2 separate regions of the Homo sapiens genome follow, and region 2 is linked to region 1. Evidence: promoter capture Hi-C in 16 types of primary human blood cells and fetal thymus (Javierre and others, 2016). All regions are on one chromosome and are shown on one strand. The core of a region is centred on a gene start or on the middle of the fragment in contact, and the rest is flanking DNA. Distances in the headings are between cores, read along the strand shown.

Region 1 (5,385 bases), core at 2,863-5,362:
TTGCCCAGGTCCCATTGCTAGTAAATGGTGCAGTCTACCACCACACTCTATGCACTTTACTTCATTATTAAAATCACCTGGTATACCTTTGCTACCAATAACACAGTAAAATCCAAACTCCTACCATGGCCTGCAAGGTCCTTCCATAATCAGGACCCCGCCCACTGCGCAGAGGTCACTTCTTACCACTTGCCCCTTTACTCTAAGCCAGGGGTCCCCAACCCCTGGGCAACCGCCTGGTACTGGTCCTTGGCCTGTTAGGAGCACAGCAGGAGCTAGCAAGGATTATCGCCTGAGCTCCGCCTCCTGTCAGATGAGCTGCAGTATTAGATTCGCACAGGAGCACAAACCCTATTGTGAACTGCACATGCGAGGGATCTAGGTTGCACTCTCCTTATGAAACAGTTTCATTAGGAAACTATACCCCGCTAGCACTCCCCCGTCCCTGCATCTGTGGAAAAATTGTCTTCCACAAAACCAAAACCGGTTCCTGGTGCCAAAAAGACTGGGGACAGCAGTTCTAAGCCTAAAATATTTACTGTGTAGCCTGTTTCAGGCAAGTTTGCAGACAATGGTTACAAGCTCTTACATCCAGAGAACAGAGAACTCCCTATTTGGATTAATAACAATGTTGTCAAAATTTGGCTGTAGTTAGACACAGGAGCACTGTGCAGTGAGTCCACCACTGGACTCCCAACATGTTTACATCTCTGGTACATATACAAATCAACACCAATCTTTCACTCTTTGAGCTTCTCGCTCCTGTTATGCCCTCCGTCCATAATACCCTGTTGTGTCTCCGCCTAGGAGAATCTATTCAACTTCAAGGCTTACTTCAAGTTTCACCTCCAAAAAGCAAGGGCACCATGCCAATGATCATCCCATGTGGATGTGACACGGCTTTCCCTGAACTACAATAACACTCACACTTTAATACTTCTACGGCAACTGTCACACATATCTGGTTACATGAGAGGCAGCATCAAACAGCATTAAGACCTTAGGCTTGTGGTCAGAATACCTGGGTTTGGGTCCCACCTCCCCCACATACTAGCTGTGTAAGTAAGTTGAACAACTTACTTAAATCCTTTTTTTTTTTTGTCTGTAAAATGGGAATGATAATAGCACATACCTCACGGAATCGTGAGGATTAAATTAATACATGTCAAGTGCTTAGAGTAATGCATGGCAAAGATAGCAAGGGCTTTTGAGTATTGACCGCATCTATCCAACAGAACTATTTCTCAAGGAGCACATAGACAACAAGCCTGGGTCATAACGTCATTTTCATTCACATTGCACCTGAAGTGAGTTTTTATGTCTTTTAGGTACCAGGGTATGATGCAAGGAGCTGGGCTTTAGTTATAAACACTTGAATCCAAGTCCAAATTGCCAAATTTGCCGTTTCACTTTAGGCAAATATTTCACCTCTCTGTGCCTCAAATTTTCTAACCTGTAAAGTTGGAATAATATCTACTTCACAGGGCTATTTAGGCCAAAAATTACACAGTTAAACTCTCAGCATCATGCCTGGTTCATAGTAGACACACCATAAATTTTAATTCCTTTTCACTTCTTCCCATAAGGCAAACAATTACAGCTTTACAACATTGCCTTAGAGCCCAACCATGACTAGAATGTGCAAAATTAATTTCATTTTTAAATCTCAAATCCCACAAAATGAGTTTACTTAAAATGAAACTCATTTATATTTACCACAGAAATCTAAATTTCTTTTTTTTTTTTTTTTTTTTTTGAGACAGAGTCTTACTCTGTCACCCAGGCTGGAGTGCAGTGGCATGATCTCGGCTTACTGCAACCTCTGCCTCCCGGGTTAAAGCAATTCTCCTCCCTCAGCCTCCCGAGTAGTTAGCGTAACAGGCTTGCACCACCATGCCCAGTTAATTTTTGTACTTTTAGTAAAGACTGGGTTTCACCATGTTGGCCAGGCTGGTCCCGAACTTCTGACCTCAAGTGATCTGCCCACCTCGGCCTCCCAAAGTGCTGGGATTACAGGTGTGAGCCACCGCGCCTGGCCAATTCTTGATAACACCATAAATTTAAGTTCCTTTTCACTTTTTCCCACAAGATAAATTACAGCTTTACAACATTTTCTCAGAGCCCAACCATGACTAGATTCTACAAAATTAATTTCACTTTTAAACCTCAAATTCCACAAAAATGAGTTTAAAGGAAACTCATTTATATTTACCCCGGAAATCTAAACTCTTGATAATACCACACATTTTAGTTTCTTCTCACTTCTTCCCACAAGATAAATAATTTCAGCTTTACAACATTTTCTCAGAGCCCAACCATGACTACACTGTGCAAAATGAATTAATTTCACTTTTAAATCTCAAATCCCGTAAAAATGAGTTTACTTAAAATGAAACTCACTTGCATTTACCACAGAAATTTAAACTCTTAATTACACCATATACCTTAATTCCTTTTCACTTCTTTCCATAAGATAAATCACAACTTTACAACATTTTCTGAGCCCAACCATGACTAGATTGTGCGAAATTAATTAATTTCACTTTTAAATCTCAAATCCCATAAAAATGAGTTTACTTAAAATGAAACTCACTTGTATTTACCACAGAAATTTAAACTATTCATTACACCATACACTTTAGTTCCTTTTCACTTCGTCCCACAAGATTAATTACAGCTTTACAACATTTTCTCAGAGCCCAAGGCTAGATTGTGCAAAATTAATTAATTTCACTTTCAAATCTCAAATCTCGTAAAATGAGTTTACTTAAAATGAAACTCACTTATATTTACCACAGAAATCTAAACTCTTGATAACATAAGAACAAGAGGCCGTCTGATTTTCTAAAAGACTTTTTTTAGACATTAAAGACATTTTCAAAAGTCGTAAATATTCGCTCCGGAGGCGCAAGGCTTTCACCTGCCATTAATTCATCAGATAAGGCACAGCTCACAATGAGGCGCCACTCCCACCGGGACCACTTTGAGGAACACACAGCAAAACGCTCTGTTTGTTTTAAGAACAATCACTTTCTAAACCTTCCTGCGGGACTCTCAAAGGCAGCCCTTCCTTTGCCGCCAGAACCGCATCCCATCGCCCAGCACTTGCCGCAGGCCGGACAAGTGAGGCCCAAAAGGGCACCCAGCCCACGCCCCGCTTTAGAAAACACCGCGCGGCAAAGCTGCTTGGAAAATCGCTATCTTTTAGTCAACCTGAAGCCAGTTTGCCGCACTCGGGGAGAGCCGGGGAGAGGAGGGAGGGACGCGATCCGCCACCAACCAAATCAGGGCCTTTCCTGTTAACGACCACGCGGCAAGGGGGCCGGGCCCTCGCACGCCTCGACGGCCTCCCCCACTCCAAAGGGACTCCGATTTCGCAGGATCTCCCGCCTCCCGCCTCTGCTCCCAACACCCTACGTTTTTCTCTTCCTCCTCATTTACGTATTTACAATAAAACAGCGAAGCTGCACAGTCTGTCTCTAAATCAAACGCGGTTACCATCAAAGCCTCAGACTCTATGTCTCAACCGCAAAAGGTCTGACAGGAAATCAACTCGGGAGTTTGTCAATTCTTTAAACTCAAAGCTCTGTTAACGAAATCTGGATCCTTCCTCGCTCCCCACCTGCCTCCCCTGACAGGAGAATGACTGTAAAAGGATCCTGTCGTCCCCGAAAGTCAGCACCAAGCACTTCACAAATTGTCAAATCTCAAAAGCTTACACGCGCGGGCACTCCGGAAAGGCTGTGGGGACCACCCAAAGCACCCCCCTCCACACCGCGGCTGAAATTGGAGGCTGCGAAGTCAAGACTCGCTCTTCCCCGCAAAGCAAACCCTCTCTCCTCAGGAGAGCCCCGGCCCCTAAGCCAAATCGTGTATTCCCGTGACGGAAAGTTCAAGGTGAGGAAAAAGTACGACTGGACAGACCTATTTTAGTGACAGAGCCTGTCACGCCGGCCTCCGGAGGTCGCGGTAAAACTGCTCGCAGTAGTCCTGCCTCTCCGATGGGCGACAGCTGTGACCGTTAGGCCACTCGACGCTTCGGAAAGGTCCTGGCACCGGAAACCGGGCCTGGTCACGCGCACGCGAGACCAGTGATGCCCTGACCCCTGAGTGGATCAGAGAGCTCCCGCGACGCCGAATTCCCACACTCGCGGTTGGGGGGGGGGGGGGGGGGGGGGGGGGCGGGACTACCCGCTGACCAATCGGAGTCTGGCCACTGACAGGCGTCACCGTTGATCGGCCAATCCGCGGGTGCTCTCCCAGTCCTTGGGTGAGGGCGGGAATTTGCTAAGGAGATGGCTGTGGGGCGGGGCCGAGGGCGGGAATTTGCTGAGGAGATAGCTGTGGGGCGGGGCCGAGGGCGGGAATTTGCTGAGGAGATGGCTGTGGGGCGGGGCCTCTTACCTCAGGTTTTCCTTCGCAAGACCCGCAGGATTGAAAATGGACGTTAGGCCTTTCAGAGACTCGCGCGCTGAGTGGTTTCTGCGGCTGCGCAGGAGGCTGGCGCGCATGCGCAACCCTTCTAGTGGCGTTGTAGTTAGGGACGTGGTGTCCCCCCTTCGTTGTTGGGGTGTCCGAAGCTTTTTTTTTTTTTTAATGTGATCCCGCCCCTCCCCCGCGCTCTGTGACGCACCAGAGACGTCGTCGTAAACTGGGTTTCCTGGACGCACGCCAGTGATTGACTTGGAATGAGGAGAGGGGCGGGGCCTTAGCAGTTGCCCTGAGCCAGGTCTGGTAGGAAGGGCGAGGGGGGCCAGGGTGGGGGGCGGGCAAGATATTTCCAGTCTCCAGCACCCACAAGTTGGACTGGGGAACTAACGCAGACCTTGAAGGCAGATTTACTGGATTGGACCCCCAGCTCCAACACAGTCCTCCTATGGCCTTAGGCAAGCCAAGTAACCGCTTTGTGCTTCGGTTTCCCCATCTGTAAAATGGGTATAATATGGGGACTACATGAGTTAATGTATGCAAAGCACTTAGAACAGTACCTGGCATAGAATTTTGCTATTGTAATAAAGGCTATGTGACATCATCTAGTGGCATATAGTCTTACATACTTATATCGAGGCTGCTCATCTTGGGAAGGAGACACAGTCTGAGTAATTATCAGAAGCAAAGCAGGCAGATATTTCAAAGTAAAGCTATACATCTTTTCTTGGCCCAGAGAGGAGCTACAAAGAAAGTATACTGGACGTTGGAAATGTATCATTTTTCCTCTCAAATACGAAGCTAGATTAAAGCCCATTATAGATATAGTATATGTTTTTTTTTTGTTTTTGTTTTTGTTTGAGACGGAGTTTTGCTCTTGTTGCCCAGGCTGGAGTGTAGCGGTGTGATCTCGGCTCACTGCAACCTCTGCCTCCTGGGTTCAAGCGATTCTCCTGC
Region 2 (5,520 bases), core at 179-2,678, 1.3 Mb before region 1:
GAATTTGCCTGTATTCATTGTTTTAGGATGTTAGTTCTTTTCATGACTAACTCAAATAAATTTGTGAGAAGGTTCATACATCTACCAGTTTTCCCGTTTCCTGAAGATGGGCAGTCCTGCTGGTGTGTCTAGACTTTTTTTTTTTTTTTTCTTTTTTTTTATGACAAGGTCTCCTATTGCCCAGGCTGGAGTTCAGTGGTATGATCACGGTTCACTGCAGCCTCGACCTCCCAGGCTCAAGTGATCCTCCCACCTCAGCCACCCGAGTAGCTGGGACTGTAGGAGCATGCCACCATGGCTGGCTAATTTTTTTTTTTTTTTAAGATGCAGTCTTGCTGTGTTGTCCAGGTTGGTCTCAAACTCCTGGGCTCAAGTGATCCTCCCGCCTCAGCCTCCCAAAGTGCTGGGATTACAGGTGTGAGCCACTGTGCCCGGCCTGTCTAGGCTTTTAAAATACCATAGGATGCCTCAAAATCAAGGTTTCTCAACTTCAAGCACAATTGACATTTTGGGGCTGGATAATTCTTTTTTGTGGAATTGCAGGACATTTAGCAGGATCCCTGGACTCTATCAACTAGAGCCAGTAGCACCCTGCCCCCAGTTATGACAACCCAAAATGTCCCCAGACACTGCCAACTGTCCCAGGGGAGCGGGGAGAAGAAGGGAGCAAGATTGCCCCCAGTTGAGAATCACTGCTGTAAAAGATGAGAAATAACTGTTGTATAGCCTTAGCTCTTTACTGTCGATACCAGAAAGCAAGCTCTGGGCTCTACACCAAATAGCTCTATCAGGAATGATTCAATGTAGGTAAACAGAGGCGAGGCAGCGGGGAGCACAGCTGGTTAGTACGTTAGTGTGAGAAAGCAAATTGAAAGGAGAGACATCAAAGGAGCGAGCAGGGTCATCTGGGGCTCTGAATCCATAAACCAGATTTGTCCATATTCTCGAAAGAGCTCAGAGATGAAGCCTCACCTGCCTAGCTCTATCAACATGTTGTCATCCTTTGGGAAATCAGATTTCATGGAAACAGCACATTTTACCACAGTTGTTTAACACAGCTGATTTGACACAGCTACTTTTGATGCTTGACGGTGAGGATGGGGGTACATTTTAAGGCTGCCAAAATGGCTCAGTGTTTAATATCACATAATATGCATGTCAGATAACCATTCCTGACTCCTCAGTCCTTGCCCCAGCATCTGGGATAGATGAGGAATGGAATTGGCAATTTCAAAAAAGAAAGCTAGGGCTGGGCGCAGTGGCTCACACCTGTAATCCCAGCACTTTGGGAGGCTAAGTTAGGAGGATCACCTGAGGTCAGGAGTTCAAGACCAGCCTGGCCAACATGGAAAAACTCCATCTCTAATAAAAAATGTGAAAATCAACCAGACGTGGTGGCACACACCTGTAGTCCCAGCTACTCAGGAAGCTGAGGCAGGAGAATCGCTTGAACCCAGGAGACAGAAGTTGCAGTGAGCCTAGATCTCACCACTGCACTCCAGCATGGGCGACAGAACGAGACTCCGTCTCAACAACAACAAAAAAAGCTAGAAGTTTAATGATTTATTATGCCAGACCAAATTGTTCTTGCACCAAAATGTCCTCAAGCCGAAATGCCTAAATCCAAACAGCTGCCTCAGACAGTCACATGCCCTATTTGATCTGTGTCACAGATGGAGCTACGTTAACCATATTCATCACCTAGTTTGCATGAATATTACACAGTTCAGTTCTGAGCTGCCTTAGAGGGTGGGGTACCAGCAGCCATCTCATTTGGTACCCAGGACCACAAGGATCACAGTTTGGAAGCAACATCACACGTCAACTCCATTACTTCTGAGCTGTGTGACCTTGGGGAGAGCACTTAATTTCTGAAACCTTCGTTTCCTCATCTGCAAAATGGGGATAACAGTAGTACCCACCCTGCAGGGCTCTAAATGAGATAATAAAGTGTCCCAGTACTGTTATGATCATTGTTATCATAATCATGTCATGAACTATCAAATGGGCTTATTATTCAGCTTTGTGTATAGTCTCCCAATGGTCTAATGATCAGAAGGATGGTGCCAAGTAACTAGAGGAGGCCAGCACCTGTGCTCCCCTATAACTCAGGGCCTGCTTGGGGTGGGGAAGGCCCACGTCCAAACCAACAGTTACCCTTGAGTGCCCAGCTGCTCCCTGGCCTGGACTCTGAAGTTGGAATTGGTAGTTTCCTCTTGGGAATTTGTCCTGTCCTGATTTAGTCAGAGGAGCTGGTTTAATCTACAAGAGAGATGATTTCTTCTTGCCATGACTGTTGTAGCTGGTTGCTCTGGTTTCTCTGGTACAAAGTTTCATTTTATAGGAACCTAGGGAACCAAGAACTTCCTAAGGGTACATATGGGGATCTCTGTTAACATTAACCTTTTGGGAGACCAAAGTATTACCTTAGCTTATATTATACATATGCTGCTACTTGAAGTCAAAACATATCCAACCAGAGTTAGGAAGTGGGCCTTTTATTAATATATTACCTTGCTTCAGATTTTGACTGTTTCATTAAAAACCAAACAAAAAAAAAACTGCCATAGAGAACTGGTTTCTGAAGCAATCTCCACTTTGGTATGCTTACTTTGAGTGGCCTTAGGGAAGTAATGAAAAATAAATAAAATATGAACATATATCACAAATGTTTTTAAAAACATATTTTACAAATACATCTTTAAGAATAAAGCAATGTCTAAGTTTGTTTGCTTTTTAATGCTTTCTGTGGATACTTCATGCCACCCGCTTTGTGTTTCCTTATACAGGAAATGCTTCTACAGAGAGGAATGGGGTCTCTTTTAGTGTTCAGAATGGAGATGTGTGCCTTCACGATTTCACTGGAAAACAGCACATGTTTAACGAGAAGGAAGATTCCTGCAATGGGAAAGGCCGTATGGCTCTCAGAAGGACTTCAAAGCGGGGAAGCTTACACTTTATTGAGCAAATGTGATTCCTTTCTTCTAAAATCAAAGCATGATGCTTGACAGTGTGAAATGTCCAATTTTACCTTTTACACAATGTGAGATGTATGAAAATCAACTCATTTTATTCTCGGCAACATCTGGAGAAGCATAAGCTAATTAAGGGCGATGATTATTATTACAAGAAGAAACCAAGACATTACACCATGGTTTTTAGACATTTCTGATTTGGTTTCTTATCTTTCATTTTATAAGAAGGTTGGTTTTAAACAATACACTAAGAATGACTCCTATAAAGAAAACAAAAAAAGGTAGTGAACTTTCAGCTACCTTTTAAAGAGGCTAAGTTATCTTTGATAACATCATATAAAGCAACTGTTGACTTCAGCCTGTTGGTGAGTTTAGTTGTGCATGCCTTTGTTGTATATAAGCTAAATTCTAGTGACCCATGTGTCAAAAATCTTACTTCTACATTTTTTTGTATTTATTTTCTACTGTGTAAATGTATTCCTTTGTAGAATCATGGTTGTTTTGTCTCACGTGATAATTCAGAAAATCCTTGCTCGTTCCGCAAATCCTAAAGCTCCTTTTGGAGATGATATAGGATGTGAAATACAGAAACCTCAGTGAAATCAAGAAATAATGATCCCAGCCAGACTGAGAAAATGTAAGCAGACAGTGCCACAGTTAGCTCATACAGTGCCTTTGAGCAAGTTAGGAAAAGATGCCCCCACTGGGCAGACACAGCCCTATGGGCTCATGGTTTGACAAACAGAGTGGAGAGACCATATTTTAGCCCCACTCACCCTCTTGGGTGCACGACCTGTACAGCCAAACACAGCATCCAATATGAATACCCATCCCCTGACCGCATCCCCAGTAGTCAGATTATAGAATCTGCACCAAGATGTTTAGCTTTATACCTTGGCCACAGAGAGGGATGAACTGTCATCCAGACCATGTGTCAGGAAAATTGTGAACGTAGATGAGGTACATACACTGCCGCTTCTCAAATCCCCAGAGCCTTTAGGAACAGGAGAGTAGACTAGGATTCCTTCTCTTAAAAAGGTACATATATATGGAAAAAAATCATATTGCCGTTCTTTAAAAGGCAACTGCATGGTACATTGTTGATTGTTATGACTGGTACACTCTGGCCCAGCCAGAGCTATAATTGTTTTTTAAATGTGTCTTGAAGAATGCACAGTGACAAGGGGAGTAGCTATTGGGAACAGGGAACTGTCCTACACTGCTATTGTTGCTACATGTATCGAGCCTTGATTGCTCCTAGTTATATACAGGGTCTATCTTGCTTCCTACCTACATCTGCTTGAGCAGTGCCTCAAGTACATCCTTATTAGGAACATTTCAAACCCCTTTTAGTTAAGTCTTTCACTAAGGTTCTCTTGCATATATTTCAAGTGAATGTTGGATCTCAGACTAACCATAGTAATAATACACATTTCTGTGAGTGCTGACTTGTCTTTGCAATATTTCTTTTCTGATTTATTTAATTTTCTTGTATTTATATGTTAAAATCAAAAATGTTAAAATCAATGAAATAAATTTGCAGTTAAGATCTTTAAGTTTGGTAATTTTCACAAAGAAAAAACATCTGCAGTCTCTTTCCCTGGTGGCCTGGCATGGAAGTGGTGTAGGACATGCTGATTAAGACAAACACAATTGGCTGGGCATGGTGGCTCACACCTGTAATCCCAGCACTTTGGGAGGCTGACGCAGGTGGATTGCTTGAGTGCAGGAGTTGGAGACCAGCCCGGGCAGCACAGGGAGACCCCTGTCTCTACAAAAAATTAAAAATTAGTTAGTCATAGTGTTGTGTGCCTGTACTCCTAGCTACTCAGGAGGCTGAGGATGGAGGACTGCTTGAGCCTGGAAGTTTGGGGCTGCAGTGAACCACGATTGTGCCATTGCACTCCAGCTTAGGCGACAGAGCGAGACACCATCTCTTAAGAAGACAAACATAACAGTAACATCTTTTGGAAATCAGCAGGTACCCTGTGACTATGAAATTAGAGCAAGGGTTGTTCTGCCTCATGAGATCAGTTTCTGAGGTCTCCTTTCCCATTACTCTTTCAAGATTATCTCTTCAACACATTGCCTTTGGCCTGTAGGCAATGTACAAGACCCAATTCAGATCTCATCCAAGTATCTGCTTCCTCAGTGTCAAACAGGTAGGACTACTGAAAAGTGAGAACAGGATTTGGGATTTCTGCATTGCTGGTTAGCATGTGGGATCCCCAAATACGGGAAGCTGGCCTCACCCTGGTAAGAGGTCTCTGAGCAATCTCTTCTTCAAGGTCCTCAGCTCCCACAAAGATGCCGAGTACTAAATTCAAAGGAAGATGTGAGATCCTCTAGATTGGGAGAGGGGTGAGACCTCAGAAATCAATCCCCCAAAACAGATTATATAACCAAAATATACATAAAAGGATGCACAATGTCCAGTATCCTTTAGGTCCCACCCCCTTATTTTTCCTACTGTGTCTGTGCTGTGGTCCTTAAGCAGAATTCTCTCATCTATTTTTCTTACTTTAGACAGACGTACGGCAGGACA

The links. Contacts are between HindIII fragments. The CHiCAGO score rates a contact against its expected background, and 5 or more counts as called.
Region 2: a fragment that was not itself captured here is called in contact with the fragment with the promoter of SCML1 in region 1 in 1 of 17 cell types (total B cells); the score reaches 5.4 in total B cells.

Annotation. Positions count from the first base shown.
Region 1 is chrX:17,736,220-17,741,604 of GRCh38, reverse strand. It overlaps SCML1 (Scm polycomb group protein like 1), which reads right to left and starts at 4,112. Exons shown (of 8, transcript NM_001037540.3): 1 at 3,925-4,112. The HindIII fragment of the contact is 866 bases long and covers 3,717-4,582 here.
Region 2 is chrX:18,988,318-18,993,837 of GRCh38, reverse strand. It overlaps ADGRG2 (adhesion G protein-coupled receptor G2), which reads left to right. Exons shown (of 29, transcript NM_001079858.3): 29 at 2,790-4,531. The coding sequence ends at 2,974. LOC101928415 (a long non-coding RNA gene) reads right to left here. Exons shown (of 4, transcript XR_001755808.2): 2 at 5,497-5,520. Among named protein-coding and RNA genes, the nearest start is that of PHKA2, 7.0 kb to the right of the region's middle. The HindIII fragment of the contact is 3,047 bases long and covers 1-2,951 here.